7 separate regions of the Homo sapiens genome follow, and all the other regions are linked to region 4. The links are contacts of gene promoters, found by promoter capture Hi-C in blood cells and fetal thymus (Javierre and others, 2016). All regions are on one chromosome and are shown on one strand. Each heading gives the region's core, a stretch centred on a gene start or on the middle of the fragment in contact. The rest is flanking DNA. Distances are from core to core; before and after follow the strand shown.

Region 1 (2,951 bases), core at 171-2,670, 410 kb before region 4:
GTATGTGCGGGCACACGCATGCTTGTACAAGTCTTAAGATGTCTAGGACATATCTGTAGAGTTGTTCTATATCATTTCCATGTTCCTTCCCAGACCCTCTGCCCTCCATCCCAAATGCTTTTCTTGCCCCTCTCCACTGTGTCTTTGCCCACATCTTGTGCTTCAGGCTCCACTCTATGTAGCATTTGACCCCCTGGCCTTTACCAGCCTTCCTGTTTCAATGTACCTGAGATGAGATGGCAGCAGCTTTGGGGAAGCAGAATCCATTCGTACATTCATTCATTCATTCATTCATATGTCACAGACTATTTGAAGTTCTGGGGATACAGTCATACAATATAGACAAGATGTTTATTTTCAGGGAGCTTACATATTAATGGGAGGAGACAGTCAATAAACAAAGGAAGATACAAGAAAATAGCAGTAATGATGAGTGTTGTGGTGAAACTGAATCAGGATGACGTGACAGAGAGTAACAAGGGGGTACATGAGTTTGGGTGGTCAAGGGAGGACTTATTTGAAGAGGTCACATTGAAATTCAGCTCTAAACAAGAGAGGGCCAGCTCTGCAATAACTGGGTGAAGAGGGTTCCAGCAAAGGGAACAGCTAGTGCAAGGACCCTAAGGCAGGATAAAACTTGGCAGGTTGAAGAAAGAAAGATAGTATGTCTGGATTATAGTGAGTGAAGGGGTAGGGAGTGGTACCAGATTGAGTCCAGATCACATAGGGCACAGTAATTAGTGGGGGAAGACAATAATTCTAAACACAAAAGTGATAGAATCTAACTTACATTTTAAACAAATATTTTGGCTGCTACTGTGTGGTGAATGGACTGGGATGGTGAAAATGGGTCAGAAGATTAGAAGCAGGGAAGTTAAATGAAAAGGATCTTGCAGTTAACCAGGTAAAGGATGATGATGCCTGGGTTAGGGTGGTGGAGATAAGAACAGTGAATGGATTTAGGATATATTTTAGAATAAAAGCGGATCGAATTTGTTGATGGGTGAGCTGTGGGGAATGAAAGAGGGAATCAAGATTGTTCCCAGGTTTTTGCTTTGAGTGCACTAATGATGGCACCATTAGTTGACATAAGGAGCCCTGGGAGAGGAAGAGATTGGGGGCAGGAAAGGAAGAGTTTGACTTAGACATGTTAATTTGAGATATTTATTAATGAACCCACTGAAGCCCCCATCTCATACTTTATATCTATCACTATACCAAGAACTATGAGATCCAAGACCTTGCCTTCCTTTTCAATTCCTTGTTAAGCAGGAATAAAGTGAAAAATTACTGAATAAAATATTCAGTTTTTTTGCAAAACACTCTTACGTTCAGAGGTTTGGTAGCAGAGCCATATCTTCCCAGGCAGGCATAAGTAGCCAATCAATCTCCATGTCATACCAAGCAACGGTCCAAGGGGCAAACTAATTAAAAATTTAATCCCATGATTTTCATCTTAATCTCTTTTTCCCATTAGCTTTGATCAATGCCTACAACTACAATTTAACCAAACTTTTCATTTAGATAAATGACTCAGTGGGGTACCTATTTAGTCCGTTTGTTATGAACCAATGGATAACTAAAATGTATATGCTAATTACTAAAGACCACACACTAATTTTCAAAGCATTTTATTAGCACAAAAGCTGTGTTCCTGTTATCAAATGAAATGCGCTTCCTATGTTACACTCAGTAGTTGTTCAAACCAGTTTCTCTTGACTTCAGTAGCCAAATTGCAGCATGCTGTGTAGGTACACAGTGCACTTGAGAAATGTCTGCACATCCCAACCCTGCACTATATCACAAGCAGTAGTGAAAGGTGTAGCAAATAAGAAGATTCCATGAACTTCTCAGCTACCTGAGACTTCTGCTGCACCCTGAAAAAAAAAATCAGGCTAGAAACCACATAAAACAACTAAACCAAACTGAATGCAGGGGCTGCTATGAGGAAGAATGAACTTTGCAGCCTGTTCCAAATGCTAAGGTGAAGGAGGTCCTTCCTGGCTCTGCTCACTAGGTGTGCAAGTCAGGAGATATTCATTTCGTGATCATCCTTTCCTATCACCTGTGGTGAAATTTCTACTGCTTTCAAGTCTTCCAGCCCCTATTTGAATGCCAAAATTCTTAAGTTCCTTCAAGTAAAAGAGATCTTCATTTTAAAAATAAAAGTCAATGGCTCTGGTCTCCTGTAGCCTTTTCAGCCCCTGTAACAGTGCTTTCTCACTTAGATTTTCACTGTCACTTCAATAAAGGGGTGAGAAGAGAGAACTGGCCTGCGATCAATGAAAACTATTCAGTAAAAACTCTTCATGCCAGACATGGCCCCAGAAACAGGAGGAAAGTTTACCAGACAGCAGGAGTGGGTGGTGGCTGGGTCCAGTGGAATGGGTAAACCTAAAAGGGGACGAAAATGGTTTTCAGGCTGCTGTGGCCCTCTCTACACACAAATTTTGTGGCCATGAAGTCCTGGCTACTAAGCATCATTGTCTTTGCGCAACCGCTGCACCTGCCACTTCCCTCAACCCATTAATAATCGGGTTCCTGGGAGGATTTTCATCCCCAATTTACTGGACATGCCTCCGAGCCACCTCCCCGCTCCGGCCCTCCCTCTCGTTGGTCGCCTTCAGACTCCCCCACACGCGGGACGGCCCCTCCCCCCACCCTCCTCACCGGCTAGCCGCGGCCAGCAGAGCCTTCGAGCGGCTCTGTCAGGCTGCCCTGGAGCGTAAGGAAGAAGAAGGCGCGAAGGAAGAAGACTTCCTCATATTCTTGGCTTCCAAGGGGCGCTAGGGCAACAGAGGGGGAAATGACGTAGCTTCCATCCCGGAAGCGAAAATTGGGCGCGGGTCCAGGAAGCCGCCATGTTGTGTGTGGCGGATGAGAATTTCAGCGCTCAGCATCTGGGTACCAGCAGAGAGGCCCCACAGAGAGGCTAGACTAACCGTCTCCGC
Region 2 (3,074 bases), core at 265-2,764, 410 kb after region 4:
ATGATGGTATCTGATGAGAATTATGTGGTTGCTATGGTGATGAGGATGGTAATGGTGTTTGCTATGGTGGTGATGATGGAGATGGTTGCTATGGTGATGACGATGGAGGTGGCGGTTGCTATAGCGATGATGATGCAGATGCTGGTTGCTACAGTGATGATGGGAGTGATGACTGTAGTGATGAGAAGAATGGTGAAGTGTGATGGTGAGGTAATGAGAGGTCATTATGGTGATGATAATGATGGTGGTGGTGGTGATAGTGATGATTGTGTTGCTGATGATGGTGGTGATCCTGATGACAACAATGGTAATGCAAGAATGGCATTGACATTGGTGGTGTTAATAGCGATATCGATGGGAGCTCTTTTTATGGCTGGATATAGAATTGTGAATCACTTCTCCCTGGTCATGGATCACCTTTTCTTCATGAGATGACAGCTAGATTTATAATTCCAGATCTGATCTGTTCAACAGTTCCTGGACTCATATATGCATTTTTATGTCTCATCTCTTCTCATGCAACCACATGTGGAACTCTTCTTCCCTTTAGCATCTGCCCCACACCTGTTCCTCCTGTCATCCTCATCTAAGTAAGTCACAGCACCATTCATCCACGGTGCAAATTCTAGGACATACCCTTGGTTCCTTCCTTTGACATATCTTCCCCATCCACCCCGATTTCCAGCCCTTCAGTAAGCCCAGCCACCTCTACCTTCCAATGCTTTTGATCTGCCTCCTTCCACCCTTTTGTTCCAAGTCACCGTCATCGCCCTCCTGGCTTAATGCAATCATCTCCTAACTGGACAACTCAACTCCCTGGTTTCAGTCTTTTTTATTTTTATTTTTTATTTTTGGAGATAAGGTCTCACTCTGTTGTCTGGGCAGGAGTACAGTGGTGTGATCACGGCTTACCGCAGCCAGCCTCCAACTCCTGGGCTCAAGTGATCCTCCCACCTCAGCCTCCTGAGTAGCTGGAACTACAAACGTGCCACCACACCCAGATAATTTTTTTTTTTTTTTTTTAGAGACAGGGTCTTGCTATGTTGCCCAGGATGGTCTCCTGGCCTTGAGTGATCTTCTCACCTGGATCTGCCAAAATGCTGGGATTATGGGCGTGAGCCACCACACTTAGCCTGGCTTTCACTCTTGCCACCCTACAATCCTTCTCCTCTCAGCAGTCAGAGTGATACTTTACAAATGCAAATCAGACCTTATCATGTTTCTGCCCCAAACTTTCCTACAGTGTTTTATTGCCCTGGACAAAAATCAAAGCTTTTTTTTTTTTCTCTAGGCATGTGCTCTAACCCCCGCCTAGTTGTCTGACCTCCTCTCCTCTCATGCTTCAGTCACACTTTCTGTTTCTCTAATGCCCCAAGCACCTTCCCACCTCGGGGCCTTTGCATCTGCCATTCCCTCTGCCAGAAACACTCAGTTCCTAGATCTGCACAGCCAGTGGCAGCGTAAGAATTCAAACCAGCTGGGTTGGCCTCTCTCAGCACATTGCTTTGCTTTATCTGCCCTATGATATTTATCACCATCTTCATCTTATTTACTTATTAGGTCATTATTAGACCCCCTCCCACAACAAGAGTGTAAGCCTCATAAAAGCAGGACCTATGTCCTTGTTTCCCACTGTGTCCCCAGCATTGAGAACAGTGAATAGTAGATGTTCTACAAATGGCTGTGAATAAATTGATTGGCTCAAGAGACAAATTAGACACATACCTCACTCCAAGTAAGTTAAAAATCAAGCTTATGACCACGTGATCTCCTCAGTGAACACAGATCATCCTTCCTCCTCTGCTCTTGTGCCCTCTACTCCCTCCCCAGTTCACCTCCCAAATCTGATCACAGCTTCTGGTTTGAGTTCCTTGCTCCACCCCTAGAGTAACCATTGCAACACATAAATCTATTTTCTTCTGCTCCTCCACCTTCCCAAGATGCCAAGAGGAAAGAAGCGCAGGGGGAAGAAAGTGGCCCCGGCCCCTGCTGTCATGGAGAAGCAGGAGACCAAGAAAGTGGTGAATCCCCTCTGTTAAGAAAAGGCCTAAGAATTTTGGCACTGGACATCCAGCCCAAAAGTGACCTCAGCCGCTTTGTGAAATGGCCCTGCTATATCAGGTTGCAGCGGCAGAGAGCCATCCTCTATAAGTGGCTGAAAGTGCCCCCTGTGATTAACCAGTTCACCCAGGACCTGGACCACCAGCTACTCAGCTGCCTAAGCTGACCCACAAATACAGACCAGAGACAAAGCAAGAGTAGAAGCAGAGGCTGTTGGCCCAGGCTGAGAAGAAAGCTGACAGCAAAGGGGACATCCTCACTAAGAGACTACCTGTCCTTCAAGCAGGAGTCAACACCGTTACCCCTTGGTGGAGAACAAGAAGGCTCAGCCAGTGATGACTGCATGTGAACAGACGTTTGGTTGCCAGCCTGCTGCTTCCCGCAGAGAAGAGTGTGCATGCTAGGCCGATCACCTCTCAGCAGGTAGCTTGGAGACAATGGGCCTAACCATTTTGAGTAGCACTTGACATGACGAGGATCCCATCGAGCTTGTTGTCTTCCTGCCTGCCCTGCATTGTAAAATGTGGGTCTCTGATTGCATTATCAAGGGGAAGGCAAGACTGGAACGTCCAGTCCACAGGAAGACCTGCACCACTGTTGCCTTCACACAGGTTAACTCAGAAGACAAAGGAGTTTTGATGAAGCTGGTGGAAGCTGTCAGGACTAATTACAACGACAGATATGATGATATCCGTCGTCACTGGGGAGGCAATATCCTGGGTCCCAAATCTATGGCTTGCATTGCCAAGTTGGAAAAGGCAAAGGTTAAAGAACTTGCCACTTAACTGGGTTAAATGTACACTTTCATTTTCTGTACATAAAAATCATTAAAATGATACAAATTCTCCTTCAAAAAGAATTTTCCCTCTTCCCTGCTTAAGACCTATCGATGTCATGCATGCACTGATTTCCACACTGGGGTCGGCAGCTTTTGATGGTTCCTTAGGAATCCAGAGGAGGTGGGGGATGGGCAGAGCAAGTGTGGTTCCTAACTTCACATCCCCCCAACCCCT
Region 3 (3,058 bases), core at 14-2,513, 330 kb after region 4:
GGATCACAGGGCCCCTGTCACCCTGGAAGCCCCAAGCTGGGCTCACCCAGGTGTGTGATGCAAGGGCAGAGGATGGACCCCTCCACTCCTATCAGCTGCCACTAACATCCCTTCCCGCCCACTCAGTCCTCCAAGAGGCTGCTGGAGACTCTCCAGCTCTCTCCTTCCACTCCCCACCTCCACACAGCCCCTCTGCACTCCCAGCTGTTCTGGCTGGCCGCCCCTCTGCCCCCAGCATCCTGCAGGAAGCCCACTCCTATCCCAGGGGCTACTGCTTAAAGCATCTGAGGTCACTTGGGGAGAGGCACTTGGCTCTGGGCCTGACATTCCCCTTGCTCAGAAGGCAGGTGCTGGGGAAATGATGTCAGATGGGACAGCTGGGGGCCGGGGTGCTCACAGCTCAGATGTCCTCTAATGGCCCTCCTACCTGCTCACCTTCCCACTAGGCAAGAGGCTGAGTACAGGTCTTACCTGCCCCAGCCCCAGCCCCTTGGGCCAATCAGCCATCCCTGCCCCGGAGGCACCAAGGCCCAAAGTCCTCCCGTGGGCCTCATTCCTACTCAGGGAAGGTATCCCCCAGAGGATGGGAAACCTCCCCTTGAAGCTGGGGCCAGTCCTGGAATGGGCTGCTTGGGGAATGAGCTCACTGTGTACGTGACCGCATTTGGCTCCCACAACAGCACTGGGAGTGAGGAATGAGAGTCCCCATTTTCCCGATAAGACTAAGAGAGGTGAAGTTGCACAGCCTGTCACGTCCAGTGGCAGCTGCTCTGATTCTATTTGATTTCAGTTGGGAAGGGGATTGCCAGGGCAATGGCTGATTCCTGCACTGTGGCAGGGGCGATGAGCACTTCCTCCTACTTTCCTGTTTGTTCGACGCGCTGTTCATTCTACTTCCTTCCACAGGAAGGGGCCTTGGATGGGCCCCAGGGATCCCACAGCAGCACTTGGCTCAGACTGTGCTGTCAGCAGTCGGCAGTGTGTGCTGGTACGTACCTGTGTACGTGTGGCAGGGTGTGCTGTGTGCATGCGTGTGCTGTGTGTGCACGTGTGTCCTGGTGCATCAGTTGTGTGCAAGAGTCTCTACACTCATCAGAATGCAGGTGCCATGTGGGCAGGGGGTTTGTGTGTGTTCACTGCTGTGTTCCTAAGATCCTAGAACTGTGCTTCACAAATAGTCTGTGCCATTAAGTATTCATGGGATGAATGAATGAATAAATGAATAAACCTTAGCCTACAGCCTCTAAAGACCCCAGAGAACAGCCAGACATTTGCCCCGAGGCAGCGTAGCAACCTGGGTCTCTGTCCTTCTGCAGGGGAGAAAGGCGATGGGAGCGCTGGCCCAGGAGATGCCTGTTGGCTAGATGCTCCAGCGTCACCAGTGTGCCCCTCCACCCGGCTGCTCTCAGCCTGGGGGACCTGCTCACCTGGAAGATCATCTGGGGCAGAGGCTGGAGGCAGCTCTGCTAGGAGACAGGATGGTGATCAGCGGCAGAGGGGGCTCTGCAGTGTAGGCCCGGGAAGGCCAGGCAGGAAGACACTTGGCTTTCCCTGTTCACTACGGGCCACCCATGGCTTAGTCTCAGGGAAGAAGAGCTAGGGTTCCTCCCAGCTGGGAATGGACTGAGCCCTCAGGGGCCTTCAGGGCCTCGAGTGTGTGCGTGTGAGAGAGTGCATGCATGTATGTGCACATGTATCAGGCTGCCATTCACCAGTACTCACCCAGCCAGCCATACCAGTTATTATGAATAAAATGGAGAAATATTTCCACACCAGTTGAAAATTCCCCCCCAGCTCAATCTCTCAGAGCTCCTGCACCTCCCGCCAATCCATACGTAAGGATCCCATTCCAGCTCAGGCCTGACTTCCATACCTATTGGTCAGTGGCCATGCCAATCAGTGCCCCCCAAAGTCCAGCTCCCTGAACACATCCTAGGCACTGTCTCTAACCTCCCACGGGAGCCCAAAGAGCAACCCTTTGCTCCAGCCATTCTTCCTGGCTGCCCCAGGGAGCTGTGGGTGGGCACTGCCAAGGAGCACCCTTGTACTCTCCTCCACATGGTACCCATGTGCCAGTCCTTTGGGCCTGTCAGGGCCCTTGGCAGGAGAGATGGCAGCCCACAGAGGGCCCAGGGAGGGCAGCTGGAAGGTGTGGAAGCCCCAGATGGGCATGGGACAGATTAGTGGCTGCAGGGACGATTCTGAGTGTTAGACATGGGTCTATGTTCCCTCCCTCCCAAAACCTCACAGGCTGGGAGTAAGTGGGTTGCTGAAACTGGGTGCTCCCCAGGAGGTTGAAATGAGGAACCCAGCAGGCTCAGAGCTCACAGTGACCAGATTTCACAAAAGCGAGGGTCAGAGCCTCACACTACACACGTCCTGGGGCTGTTCTGGGAAATCTGGAAGGGCAGGAGCCAGTGGAGCCAGGAGGATGGTCTTTGAAGTCAGATACGTGGGGTTCAAATCCTGGCTCTGGCCCCTTCCAGCTGTGAGCTCTGGGCAGGATGGACGTGTCAGAGGAAGCAGCCCACCCCTTCGCTAACTTCTGACGTTTTCTCAGTCCTCTATTTTGCAAACAGCTTTGAGCCCACCCTCAGCCTGCCAGGCCCCGTGTCGCACAGGAAGATGGAGATGCAGCTGGACTCAAACTCAGGTCCCCTTGCTCCCAGTGAGAAAGCATTTATGAAAAGACACCCAACAGCTCTCTGCTACCCTTCCTGAGGGTGGAAGCTGTGGGGGGCCAGGGAAGTCAGGCCAGGTGGAACCATCGACATTTTCCTCTCCTGCCCCCATCCCAGAGGGAGGCGACCAAGGCCACAGAGGGACCCACAGCCGACCCCACCGCTGACACCTCCTCAGCTGCCACATTCGCTGAGAGGTCATCACGTGGCTTGGGACAGACATTACTCCAGGTCTGAAAATCTTCCGGAATCAACGCAAAGGGGTGCAAATAGGCAGATTCCTTGTCCCCACCCTAGATCTGCAGCGCCAGAATCCTTGAGCCTTGGAATCTGCATTTTCACAAGTGCTTCCACTGGAGTGGGACGCTGGCAGGCCC
Region 4 (3,147 bases), core at 318-2,817:
CAGTGGCACTGGGGCATCAGAGTTTATCTACCTTAGTAATCAGGACAGTTTATATTCACTGAGCACTTACTATGAACCAAGGACTGTTCTGTTTACTTCCTTGCCAAGGGCACAGACTCTCCTGCCCAATCCCAGCTCTGGTGAGGACAGTGGGAGCCTGCATGGCACAGAGTCCATGCACAGTAAACATGAGCAGCTCCTATTAACTCTAAATCTCTACAGCAACCATAGCCGGTTCTTACTATTGGTTGCTCTAGGTGACTTACTTTGTCCAAGGCCACACAGGCACTAAAAGGCAGAGTCAGGATTTGAACCTAGGTGATCTGGTTCCAGAGCCTGCTCTATTAACCGTTAAGGAACTGGTGCAGACAGAACCGAGACCTGGAGTCAGAATGCCCACCTAGCTAGATGCCTGAGGCAGCCACTCACCTCTTTCTGTCTTATTTACTTGTGAAATGGAGCATGTCATCAGCCTTGCCTTCCTTTTCCCGCAGCCCCCCACCCCGGTTCCTGGCCCACTGTGACCATCAGATCAGATGAAAGAGATCCAGGCATTTCTCTAAGGAGAGCACAGGGTGGTGGGGGTTGGGGTGGGAGAGAGCACATTATTTTCCCACCATAAGGGGTTGAAGGAGCCCAGAATTTGGGGGTGGGGCCTTGTCTGTAGGAGCCTGGTTCTCTCAGGTTGACACGCCACCAGAGAGCCTCCATGACCCCCAACCCTCATCCTCACCCCAGCCCCCCATAGGATGTGTAGAGACAAAAGGTTTGACAACTGTAGCGCCAACAAGCGTCCTAGAGCCCCAGATAAGATCCTAGCCTCCTGACAGCGCAACTGACAGCAGCATCTCTGAGGCTGGATTTTAGGGTGGAGTATGAAGAAGGTGGCCGTAGTGACAGTGGGGTCATGTTATTTGGCCAAGTCACACCAAGCAGGGAGAGAGAAGGGTGGGCCTAGGCTGGAAGCCTGAAGGCTGAGTGAACTCAAACTTTAACGACCATGGCCTGTAAAATGGGACTAAGCACAGCGCCCTTATGGGTTGCTGTGAAAATCAAATGAGTTAATACTTGTAACTCCTTTAGCATATGGTGTCTGGCATCAGAGAGTGCGCAGCAAACGGTGACTATTGTCGTGACTGTGTTATTACACACTTGGGTATCACCGCCAGCCAAAGCAGTCCCTTCCATTTCAGGCACCGGCCTGGGCCCGGGAGACACCGCAAGGCTATTTAAGATGGTGTGGTTTGCCCATCTACGTTGATCGTCCCAAGAAAGGGGCACCGTCTGCAGAACTTGCCAGGAAAGTCATCCTGGGCGGCGCGGGCCACGCCAGGGTCTCCCCGCGCGGCTTCCTCCCCCGGCGCCTTCTCTCGGGCGCGCGTGCGCCCCCTGCAGGCGGCCCCCGGGAGAGCCTCGCGGGGGAGCCGGGAGCCTGGTTTCCCCGCCAACCCCCATCCCGCCCGCCCCGGCGGCCACCCTGGGGGCGAGGCAGCCCGGCGCGTGGGAGGGGACGGCGCGCCATTGGCTTGTGCGCGGAACCGAGAGGAGGGACCAGCGCGGGCCGCCAGACTCGGTAAGCCCCGGCCGCGCAGGGCGCCGCGCGCAGTCCAGCCGGCCCGGCCCTGCCCTGCCCTGCCCTGTCCTGCCCTGCCCTGCCCTGCCCTGCCCTGCACTGCCCGGCCCGGCACGGGCGGCGCGATGTGAGGCGTCCGAGCCCGGAGCCTCCGCCTGGCATCAGCTCCACGTAGCCCAGCGCCGGCACGCGCGAGGCCCGTAAGTTCTGCTCCCCGCCGCCGCTTCCGAGCCGCGGACTTTCCCCTCCCGCCGCCCGCCGCCTGCGCAGCGCAACCCAGCGGGGCTCCTGCGGCCGACGGGACCGCAGAGGGGCGGCCGGGACCCCGCGCGCGCTAACCGGGCGCCCCGGGACATCTCGGCACCCGCTGAGCCCGCTGGGACCCCAGGGGGTCGCCTCCCCAGCTCCCCAAGGCGCCGTCCCGCAGCCCCTTCCGTCTCCCCTGCGCGCTCTCCCCTCGCCGCCCCTCCCTCTGACTCGGTTTCCCCTCTCCCCCGGCTCCGCGGTCGCCCTCCTCCTGGACTGCTTATTTCGTCCTCGGCCACTGCCTCTCGGGCTCGAGCTTTCTGCTTCAGAGCAGGAGAGAAACGGAGCGAAAGCAGTTTCTGTCTCCCCGGGGTCTGACTCGGTCCCCCGCGCTCGGTTCTCTGTCCCCTCCCCCTCCCGCCATTGTTCCCGGCAGGAGGAGTGCGCGGCGCAAACTTGCGAGTTCCCCCAGTCTTTGCCCCCGCAGGGCCGCGGACGGAGGTGGTGGCGGAGTTCCCGCTGCCCACAAGTCTGGCCCGACCTTCTGGGGTGGGGGCCTGGGGGCAGGGGCCCTGGGCCGGAGAACCCGGGGCCGCCTAACGGCTCGGAGCTCACCGCCGGGGGACACCGGCGCTGAGGCCTGGGTCTCAGAAAGTGGGTGAGTGTCTGGAGCGGGGACATCAGGGACAGATTGCAGGGGGAGGGGCGAGGCTGAGAGAGTCCCCCGTCCCCAGGCTGGAAAGGGGCGGGCAGAAACCCAGGCCGCGCCTTAGCCCAGTTAGGGGGTGGGTAGGGGACGCACAGGTGGAGACGCCCCCCACTCTCCCCAAAGTCGCGCGATCTGCAGGAAGGGTACAGTGTGGGGCCACTGGCCGGGCGCTGGGTGGGTTAGGGCCCCTGCCGTGGGCAGAACACTCGCACCTACCCGGGGGAGGCTGTGTGGAGGAAGGGCCAGAACGCCGCGCCCACCCCGGCGCGCCCCGCTGGGCGGGGCGGGGCGGGGCGCTCGCCTTGGGTCCCCTCGCTCTACCTTCCTTCGCCCTGACCCAGTCTCGGGCTTCCGCCTCTTCCTGGAGCCCGGGGGGAGTGGGTTTCTCCGCCGGAGAGATGGAGGCTGGGGCAAGAGCAGCGCGGAGGCCAAGAACCCCCAGGCTCCTCCAAAGCCCAGAGCGGCTGGCCAAGGCCCCCTCACCGCCCCACTACCCTGCACTTCCTGATTGGTTTCTTTCAAACAAACTTCTTGACGGGGCGGGCCTGCGGGGAGAAGTCACCGGGGCTGCCCACCCCAACTATGTGGTCCCTTGGACCTCCACCCCTGACGGCCTGTG
Region 5 (3,264 bases), core at 686-3,185, 320 kb before region 4:
ATATGATATGTGGTCTTTTGTGACTGGCTTCTTTCACTTAGCATCATGTTTTCAAGGTTCATCCACATCATAGAATGTATCAGTACTTTATTTTTTATGGCTGAAAAATATTCTGTTGTATGGGTACATGGCATTTTGTTTATCCATTCACCCATTGATGGACATTTGGATTGGTTCTACCTTTTGGCCATTGTGAATAGTACTGCTAAGTACATTCCTGTAGAAATATTTGAGTAACTGTTTTCAATTCTTTCAAGTATATACCTAGGAGTGAGATTGCTGGGTCATATGGTAATTCTATATTTAACATTTTGAGGAATCGCTAAACTGCTTTCCACAACAACTGCACCATTTTAATCTCCACCAGCAATGTATGACAGTTCCCATTTCTCCACCTCCTTGCTAGCAGTTGGTATTTTAATTTTTATTTATTTTATTTATTTTTTTTTTTTAAAAAGTCATCCTACTGGGTGCAAAGTAGTATCTCTTTGCGGTATTTTCTGAGCTTTTAATATCTAAAAAAAAACCCCAAATTCTCACTTTTAAAATATTCATCAGTAGCTGGCAAGTTTTTTTAAAAAAATTTTTATTATAAGTTCTGGGATACATGTGCAGAACGTGCAGGTTTGTTACATAGATATACATGTGCCATGATGGTTTGCTGCACTCATCAACCTGTCATCTACCTTGGGTATTTCTCCTAATGCTATCCCTCCCCTAGTCCCCCACCCACTGACAGGTCCCGGTGTGTAATGTTCCTCTCTCTGTGTCCATGTGTTCTCATTGTTCAACTCTCACTTATGAGTGAGAACATGTGGTGTTTGGTTTTCAGTTCCTGTGTTAGTTTGCTGAGAATGATAGTTTCCAGCTTCATCCATATCCCTGCAAAGGACATGAACTCATCCTTTTTTATGGCTACATAGTATTCCATGGTGTATATGTGCCACATATTCTTTATTCAGTCTATCATTGCTGAGCATTGGGTTGGTTCCAAGTCTTTGCTACTGTGAACAGTGCTGCAATAAACATACATGTACACGTGTCTTTATAGAAGAATGATTTACAATCCTTTGGGTATATATCCAAAAACCACAGTAGCTGGCGAGTTTTCAACAAACATTTGCTGTCTGTATTGAGCAACTATTAAAATGAGTCCACATGGGCAACCCGTAAAAACATTTCATTGTTCATGAGTCTCGTGAGAGGAATGGAGTGTGTGTGCAGTAGTCCTGGCTGCCCTGTTCTTCCAGCAAGTTTGCACCTGCTGCTCTGTCTGTCAAATATGTTATTATTGTCATCTTTCCCATTCTGTTCCCCCAAGCTTTAGCCCCTCATGGGTCCCACTAAAATTCCCCCCAATACCCAGGCCCTGCAAACCCCATCTAATTGAGGCAGTATTTAGGGTCTTTCAATATTTCCTTACCAGGCCAGTGTGATGCCTGGAGGAGCCTTGCCCCTCTCCAGGGCCAGTTGCTGCCCACACAATGAACCTTCAGGAGGAGTTCAATAAGTCCCAATTCATTAGATAAAGGGTGCTGTAATTGCCTTATGTTATAGAAAAGTCCTGGGAGATTTTTACACACTGCTTAAGAATGTTACAATGATATTTGGGGAAGTTGATTGTGGTTTTGGGGTAGACTTGGAATGCATTATAATTTTTCCCTTAAAATAATGGAGTACCAGTGCCTGCTTTCTGAAATCTGCTAATCACCATGTTTTTAGGAACAGATCAGAGTCAAATAATGAGGGGGAGTTGCATATATGAATATGAATGAAAACAAGCGTAAAGGAGAGAGGGGTCCTGTGAGAATTCTGCGAAATTGAGTCAGTCCATCTGGCATAGACCCTAGAATATTTTGACATATTTCATTGATTCCTCTCCCTATCCCCACCTCCACTCATTAAGTCCAAGACATGCTTTTTCTGTCACAGAAAGTTGAGCAGGACTTAGCACATGGCAAAGAGAAGTGAGGAGACATGTTGAATGACTGAATACATTGATGAATGGATGGGTAGACAAATGAGGAGGTAGGGATCTGTGGGGCTGCCACCTCTGCTTGTAGCCAAAATGAAAACCACAGGCACAGAGAAGCAGGGGAGGGTGCTGAGTCCACCGAAGGATCTCTATGCTTGCCTTTAGTGATATATCAAGAAATCAAGACCAGCAGGAAGCATGTGGCAACTTCACTTTTTACAGGTTTCTCTCCTTTCAGGTCTCTGTTCATCTGGCTAACGTTAGAGAGAGTTTTTTAAATCTTCACCTGCAAGGCCAATGAGGTAATACCCAGGGAGATGTTTTATTTGGAAGAGCATTATAAACCACACAGGTTGGACTCTCTGGTAAGAACAGCACGATGTAAAGGCTGTAGGTTTATTGAGGCAGGATTGCAAAGACTTTGCTTTTCAAATAGAATTAAGAAGGATGTTTTGGAAAAGATGGTGTTTGAAGATGCAGATAAGGTTGGGTAAAAGCGGTTTGGTAAGGCAACTGGAAGAGTTGATTGAAACAGCTGCAAGTGTAGAATATCTTCTGTTAGCTTTAAGCTTATTCTGCATTTCTGAATGCCCCCTGCACCCTGCTTCTCAGAGCATATCGCGGAGCATCTTAAAATACACTTTGATTTCCAGCACAGTCACTTCACATAGAGGAAAGGGGAAGCTATCAGAGAGGAATACAGTGAAGGCAGTGATGTGACATGAGGAGAAAATATTCACATGATTTGGAGGGTTTCTTTGCACATTCTTTGCAATGCATCATCTAATGATCTCGTCTCTTACTTACTAACAAATGGAGCAGATTCTTTAAGTGGCAACATGACTATCACCCTTTGCAAAACAGCCTCCATACAAAACACATAGAGACAAAGAACAGAAAGGAATGAACGTGAGGTTAGGTGCCTAGCCTAATCCCACCACATTGTAGCCTTGCATTTGATTTTTGGGTACCCATTGGAGTTAATTTTAGGTAACAATCTTTGAGACTACTCGAAAGAAAAAATTAACTCAGAATGAAAATGTTCACTTTTATAATCAAGATGCTGAGCTAAAATGGGAATCAAATGAGACTCAAAAACCTGAATTTGAATTCAGACTCCACCATCTCCTAGCCAAATCACCACAGCCATTCTGAATCCCACTTTGCTCATTCATGAAACAGGGATTCTACAAGGTTCTCTAAGGTTATATGGAAGAATGAATGAGATGACACGTATGAAAGCACCCAACGGATTCAGCACTTGCCTTTGATCAAAGGATATTTTTAAG
Region 6 (2,943 bases), core at 209-2,708, 390 kb after region 4:
AAGCCTTCTTACTGACTCATCACATGGTGAGAGGGCAAGGGCATGCCACCGCAGGTCTCTCTTCATCCTATTATAAAGCTACCAGTCCTCATCATGAGGGCCCCATCCTGATGACCTTATCTAATCCTCCCAAAGGCCCTACCCCCAAATACCATCAACATATGAATTTGGGGATTCAGTTTCCAATACATTCAAACCATAGCAGAGTCATTCACTGAAATATCACATTGGGTTGGCTCCCTCAGCATTGTCCCTATCCCCTCTCTTCCAGCAGAAGGCAAGCTTTGTCATGACTCACCTTGGGCATTTTGCCAGGCAGAAAGCGCAGACACTTCTAGTGAGACTCTACCTCTAGTCCATTCTAGAGGTGGAGCCAGGAGTTCTGGAGGTGGGAAAAGGGGTGAGAAGAACCACCCTAGAAAGCCTTGAGAGAAGATATCCATGGCCAACTTGGAGATGGGGAAGACGGTGGTGTGGCAAGACCTCAGAGAGGTATGGCTATAGGATTGCCAGGCTCTCAGAAGATTCCCCCACCCCAAAGGTGGAAGATGAACAGCTGAGCAGGAGACTTCAAAGAACTTGTAGGCAAGAACATGGGGGCCAGTTCCCTGTTAGTGTCTGGGCCTAGGTTAAGGCCCCAAGACTTTTGCACATCTCTGGTGGAGGAAGGTAAAGAGAATGAGTGCGGGTATCTGTTTCCTACTGTTATGTAACAAACCATCCCACTCATTTATTTTGCCCATAAATCTGCAGTTTGGGGTGGGCTCAGCAGCAACGGCTTATCTCTGCTCTACGCAATGTCAGGTGGTTCAATTGGAGGTTGGGGATCCATTTTCAAGATGGTGTACTCACACACCTAGCAAGTTGGCACTTGCTGCCAGCTGGGAGGTCAGCCAGAGCTGTGGAGGCCTTTGGTCCTCTCCATGAGGCTGCTCCACAGGTTGCTTGAGCTTCTTCATAATTTGGCTGCCGGTTTTGAAGAACAAAGACTCACTTAGAAGTGCATGGCATTTTGTGACCTAGCCTTAGAAGTCATATAGGATCACTTCCTTTGCATCCTATTAGTAGAAGCAGTCACCAAGGCCCTGGTTCAAGAGCAGGGTACATAGTCTCTTTCTTAACCAGGGGGTAACAAAATTCTAGAAGAGTTTTCAAGAAAGGAGATATTGTTGCAGCCATCTGTGAAAAATACAATCTGCCCCAAGCGAGTCCTCAGAATGACTGGAGGAGGGTTTCTCTGATGGGAGCTGAGAGTTCAAACTCAATTGATTGTTTTAAAAAATGGTATACAGTATGTATCACACAAGCATTTGTGCACAAATGAATAAGAAGTTCAGCAGTGGACAACTGGTCTTGAGTAGCTGGATGTCTTTTTTTTGTTTTTTTTTTAGATGGAGTCTCACTCTGTTGCTCAGGCTGGAGTGTGGTCGTGCGACCTCGGCTCACTGCAACCTCTGCCTCCCAGGTTCAAGTGATTCTCCTGCCTCAGCCTTGTGAGTAGCTGGAACTACAGGTGTGTGCCACCACGCCCAGCTAATTTTTTTGTGTTTTTAGTAAAGACTGGGTTTCACCATGTTAGCCAGGATGACCTCGATCTCCTGACCTCGTGATCCACCCACCTCGGCCTCCCATAATCCTGGGATTACAGGCGTGAGCCACCGCGCCTGGCCTAGTAAGTGGATGTCTTAAGATCTTTCTTCAAGAGTCCTCAGAATAGAGTTAGCACTTCCCTCCCTAAACCTGCACTGTTTCCTTAAAGTTACAAACTTAAAAATTGCACTCATTTAATCCTGATAGCAACAACCCAGTGAGGCACATACTATTATGAGGCCCATTCCCAAGATGTGGAAATGGAGCACTCAGATGCTAAAGTCATACAACTAACAAGTGATGGAGGAAAGTGAAGTTGCAGCTTATATATAGCTAACCCAATTTTCAGTTCCTGAAATTGAGCCCTAGGGGAAAGGCCCAAGTTGGGACCCAGTGAGCGCCCAACACTGAATCGCAAAAGCTCGCACTGGATCAAGGAGGTTCCCCAGGGCCTTGAAGGGACCCTGCTTCCTGCTTACAGAAAGAAGGCTGGCCCCAGAAAGCTGGGCTCCAGCACTTGCTTGGCATAACCCCGCCCTATCCTCTGTCCTCTTGCCGAGTCTCAGGCCAGGAAGTGGTTAATAGCACTTTCCCACACTTTCTGTTTCCATTTCTCTATTCCTGAACACAGTCATTCCTGCATTTGAATGGGCTCAGCAGGACCACCGACCTTTATTTTTTTCTCCAAAGCACTTAAAGGGGATTGGAACTCTAAGCCCATTATAGCTGGGTTGTAGCTGAGGACAGGGGCTGAGTTCCCACAGAAGACACTGAGCCATTGATTTGTTCCTGTCTCAGTCATTTCAGAAAGATCAGTGAGGCCCCTGCTCAAATCCTGCCCTGCCGCCTACTACATCTGAAGGTCCAGGGGTTACTCTTCAGGGGGCTTTTAGCCCCTGTACATTGCCATGTTGCCATAGCAACTACGACACTAATAATGGCAGCCACCGTTTTAAAAGTAAGCTGTAAAATAACTAATTTAAATATATTTAACTAATTTGATAACTAGCATTTGCGTAGCACTTTACATATTCTAAAGCTTATTTATATTTATCTTACAACTGTGGCACTTGGGTAAGTCTTTGAAACTATTAAATCATGTCCCCCCCTCCCCAAATTCCCTGTTCTACCCGTTTATTTTTCTTTTTAGGCATCAGCTTAAACCCATGGTAGGGTTATATACATCCCAATATATGTCATTTGTTTATAATAGATATGTATGTACTATTTTATTAGCCATTTTGCATAATATGAACTATGCACAAAGACAAATATTTTATTTTATTTATTATTATTATTATTATTATTATTTTTGAGACAGATTCTCACTCTGTCGCCCAGGCTGGAGTGCAG
Region 7 (3,171 bases), core at 117-2,616, 420 kb before region 4:
TTGATGAGAATTTCTGGAATAAAGGCAGACATACAAGCAACCATGACGTCGGGCAGGAGGTGATGAGAGATGAGATTATAATGAGAGGTACAAGGGCAAAAGAGGAGATCGATTCTAAGTCTTTCTGGAGGTGGTGGCAACAAAGCAGGGTCATAAAGCATGGGTAAGCTTTCAATAAGCAGAGATGGAAAGACAGGAGCCAGCTTGGGAGCTCCGCTAACCATTTGTATAAATGCAATGTAGCTGCTGGCCTCGGCCATCAGGAGCAGACCTGAGACCCAACCCTAGTATCCAGTCCACTGGGAGTCTTGACCTTGCCCTTCCAGCCATAATATTACGAGTAAGGGATCCAGATTCCCAGTGCAGATTGCCTGTCCTTAGGTCACTGGAAAAAGAAAGAAATTTGAATGTTTAAATACCCTGGCCAGATTTTCCATTGTTCTGATTCACTTCCCTTTATTTGCCCTGAAGCTCAGTCCCACTCAAACAGCGCTCCTTGTTCATTCCCTCATTTTATCCTCTGTAGGCTCAAAGTCTGCAAGCAGCTGAAAGGGAACCAGAGCCTGGGCTGGGCTCAGAAGGCCCATAGGCTAAGCCTTTCCTGCTTCTTCCTGAGACCCTGTGTTCTTTGGGGCTATGCAGAGACTGGGGAGAAGAAAATTTCTTTGCTAAGAAGAGTATTTGGATGTGTTGACAAGGTCTCTATAGTAACCAGGAAATTGAACAAGTGTCGCCAGAAACCCACAATCAAGAAGGTGTATTTTTCCCCCAGATTGGTCAAGGAAGCTCGTCTAGGGCTGGGGGTTTAGCCATGAATGTGAGCAGTTAGAAACCAAGAAACCATGCTCCTTCACTGGTTGGCATTAGGAGCTAAGCTGAGCCGATCGCTGAGGCTCACTTGGTGCTCAGGAGCACAGAATCAGATTTGCCTTTGTAGGCAATTCAGTCTTGCTTTTGATCAAAGAAAAGGCAATAAAAACCAAAACCAACAACAAAACAGAGAAGTAAAATAACTCAAGATAGAGCAATCGAGTTGGGTCAACTTTTGGTGTCTGAGAAATAACAGAACCCTGCTTCTAGAACCCACTCTTGAGGTCCAGAAGGGGTGGATGAGGAAGGCTGGTTACAGACAGCAAGGGAGGGGTGGACATTTTTGGAGCTTCTATGTGCTAAGCACTGGATTCTGCCGAAATTGAGGTCAAAGAGCACAGTGGTTAAGAGTAGAGTGCCAGAGCCAGGCTACCTGGGCTCAAAATCTACACTGTCCTCTCCAGTTTTGTCCCTGGGGTTTGTTTAACCATCCTGAACCTCCATTCCCTTAGCAGCAAACTATGTTGTTATGAAGATTAAATAAGCAAATACATATAAAGAGTTTAGAACCCAACCTGACACATAGTAAATGCTCATTAAGTATTAGTATTATATTAACTTGTTGAATCTTCACATTAACCTATGGGTTTGTAATTCTACTCTCCTCAGTTCGTAAGGAAACAGGCTCAACTCAAGAAATCCCCTGCCCAGGGCACACAGTTGGCAAGAGGCAGGAATGGGACTCAACTCCAAGTTTGGCAGGCCTCCTCACCCCTCGATGCCTCTGATAGGAGCTGGCTTTCCCTATGAATCTGGATGATGATGGGCTCTTCCTGGCTCTTGGGGTTTCGTTTCTATAAGGGAGGCACCACTCACCATCACACACGACACCCATGTGATGGGGCTCACAGAGCAGAGTGAGCCTCCCTCACAGTCACAGGCCAGAGGGATCAAGACAGCATCCCATGGTCCTTCCTCCCTGCGGCCTCCATGGCTCCTTGTCACCCAGGATGACAGACAGAGCACCAGGTTGGGAATCAGCAGGTGTGGGTTCCAGCTCTGCCACAAACCTGCTGCATGACCTTGTGCAAACCAATTTCCCCATCTTAAAAACGAAGAGGTTGGATTTTGCCATCCTGAGCTCTCTGAGAGTCTGAATTTACAATTCCGGGGATCAGAGTGTCACATCTCACATGCTAAGATGAAAAGGTGAGCGTTTCAGCCAGTTGACTGCAGTGAGAAGAGATCACCCATCCTCTCAGTGCCCCGTGGAAGCACTTCCATTTAGGACACATCATACATTCAACAGGCTTTGAGAAAAACTGGGGGGTGGAAGTGGGGAGAGAACCACTATTGACTTTGCACACCTCAGGCCCTGGGATTGACATTTCCACACACAAGAACCAGTGACAGCAGCCCGATGGCATGGGGAGTGTTTGTGATGCCATCTTACAGAGGAGGCAACTGAGATGCAGGGAAGTCAGGTCTTAGCACCGATATGACCTTTTGATGCAGGTATTTCTGAATCCAAATTGATGGTCATTATAAGATTATAAGAAAACAATAAATTGCAAGCAAAAAAATGAATTCCTTTTTTTTCTTTTCTTTGTTTTTGTTTTAAAGCATTTTGCTTTTTAAGGGCCAATCTTCTCTTCATGTGCGAAATGGGAACCAAGATCTGGGTCATAGCTTACAGTCCCAAAACCCAGTTGTCCTGGAAGAAAACAAGGACTCATCAGGGCCTGGAAAGCTTGTGTCTGAATCTCCAGCAATCCATGGCTGGCTGATTTCTTCTAAAGTCAGCCAAGTTGGAGCCTGGCGGCTGAAAGACCATTTCACTGGCGGCACAGAACCCATTCCCCATGCGTTTCACCACCCACAGTTTTCTTGTCCTACCTGCGTTCCTCCTTGGCAGGCAGTTTACCAGACATCCAAGCACCAAACGGGGCCATGTGGATCTGGCCTGGTCGTCTGTACAGCTGGAGGAGCCACGCCTCTTCCTGACCTTTCTCAGGAAGCAAAGCACCTACTGTCTTCCCGGCAGAGCCAGGGCAAGCATGGGCTTGGGAATGGAGCACACCTGCCTCCCCAGTCTGGCTCTCTGCCCTTTAATAATCGTGTCCCTGGGCCGGACGCGGTGGCTCACGCCTATAATCCCAGCACTTTGAGAGGCCAAAGCAGGCGGATCACCTGAGGTCAGGAGCTCGGAGACCAGCCTGGCCAATATGGTGAAACCCCGTCTCTATTAAAATACAAAAATTAGCTGGGCGTGGTGGCGCGCGCCTATAATCCCAGCTACTCAGAAGGCTGAGGCAGGAGAATCACTTGAATCAGGGAGGTGGAGGTTGCAGTGAGCTGAGA

What was found. The method cuts DNA at HindIII sites, captures the fragments that hold promoters and counts their contacts. A CHiCAGO score of 5 or more calls a contact.
Region 1: a contact is called between a fragment that was not itself captured here and the fragment with the promoter of TP53I11 in region 4, in 3 of 17 cell types (activated CD4 T cells, naive B cells and total B cells). The highest score is 7.0, in activated CD4 T cells.
Region 2: a fragment that was not itself captured here is called in contact with the fragment with the promoter of TP53I11 in region 4 in 1 of 17 cell types (naive CD4 T cells); the score reaches 5.4 in naive CD4 T cells.
Region 3: a contact is called between a fragment that was not itself captured here and the fragment with the promoter of TP53I11 in region 4, in 1 of 17 cell types (naive CD4 T cells). The highest score is 5.6, in naive CD4 T cells.
Region 5: a fragment that was not itself captured here is called in contact with the fragment with the promoter of TP53I11 in region 4 in 1 of 17 cell types (non-activated CD4 T cells); the score reaches 5.5 in non-activated CD4 T cells.
Region 6: a contact is called between a fragment that was not itself captured here and the fragment with the promoter of TP53I11 in region 4, in 5 of 17 cell types (neutrophils, naive CD8 T cells, activated CD4 T cells and 2 more). The highest score is 6.6, in neutrophils.
Region 7: a fragment that was not itself captured here is called in contact with the fragment with the promoter of TP53I11 in region 4 in 1 of 17 cell types (naive CD4 T cells); the score reaches 5.4 in naive CD4 T cells.

What each region holds. Positions count from the first base shown.
Region 1 is chr11:45,355,322-45,358,272 of GRCh38, reverse strand. LINC02696 (long intergenic non-protein coding RNA 2696) reads right to left here and starts at 2,902. Exons shown (of 2, transcript NR_120558.1): 1 at 2,671-2,902; 2 at 1,616-1,877. The HindIII fragment of the contact is 6,359 bases long and covers 1-2,951 here.
Region 2 is chr11:44,539,560-44,542,633 of GRCh38, reverse strand. It overlaps the pseudogene RPL7AP79. Among named protein-coding and RNA genes, the nearest start is that of CD82, 25 kb to the left of the region's middle. RefSeq lists an enhancer at 2,233-2,839. The HindIII fragment of the contact is 480 bases long and covers 1,275-1,754 here.
Region 3 is chr11:44,621,392-44,624,449 of GRCh38, reverse strand. No RefSeq gene overlaps it. Among named protein-coding and RNA genes, the nearest start is that of CD82-AS1, 18 kb to the right of the region's middle. The HindIII fragment of the contact is 4,125 bases long and covers 1-3,058 here.
Region 4 is chr11:44,949,303-44,952,449 of GRCh38, reverse strand. It overlaps TP53I11 (tumor protein p53 inducible protein 11), which reads left to right and starts at 1,567. Exons shown (of 7, transcript NM_006034.5): 1 at 1,567-1,773. RefSeq lists silencers at 1,378-1,637, 1,668-1,797. The HindIII fragment of the contact is 12,322 bases long and covers 1-3,147 here.
Region 5 is chr11:45,273,901-45,277,164 of GRCh38, reverse strand. The region is part of intron 1 of SYT13 (synaptotagmin 13); the gene reads left to right. Among named protein-coding and RNA genes, the nearest start is that of SYT13, 11 kb to the left of the region's middle. The HindIII fragment of the contact is 1,223 bases long and covers 1,324-2,546 here.
Region 6 is chr11:44,558,811-44,561,753 of GRCh38, reverse strand. No RefSeq gene overlaps it. Among named protein-coding and RNA genes, the nearest start is that of CD82, 5.4 kb to the left of the region's middle. RefSeq lists an enhancer at 1,955-2,591. The HindIII fragment of the contact is 2,347 bases long and covers 285-2,631 here.
Region 7 is chr11:45,372,376-45,375,546 of GRCh38, reverse strand. It overlaps LINC02687 (long intergenic non-protein coding RNA 2687), which reads right to left. Exons shown (of 5, transcript NR_122071.1): 1 at 2,707-3,171. Among named protein-coding and RNA genes, the nearest start is that of LINC02687, 2.6 kb to the right of the region's middle. The HindIII fragment of the contact is 2,392 bases long and covers 171-2,562 here.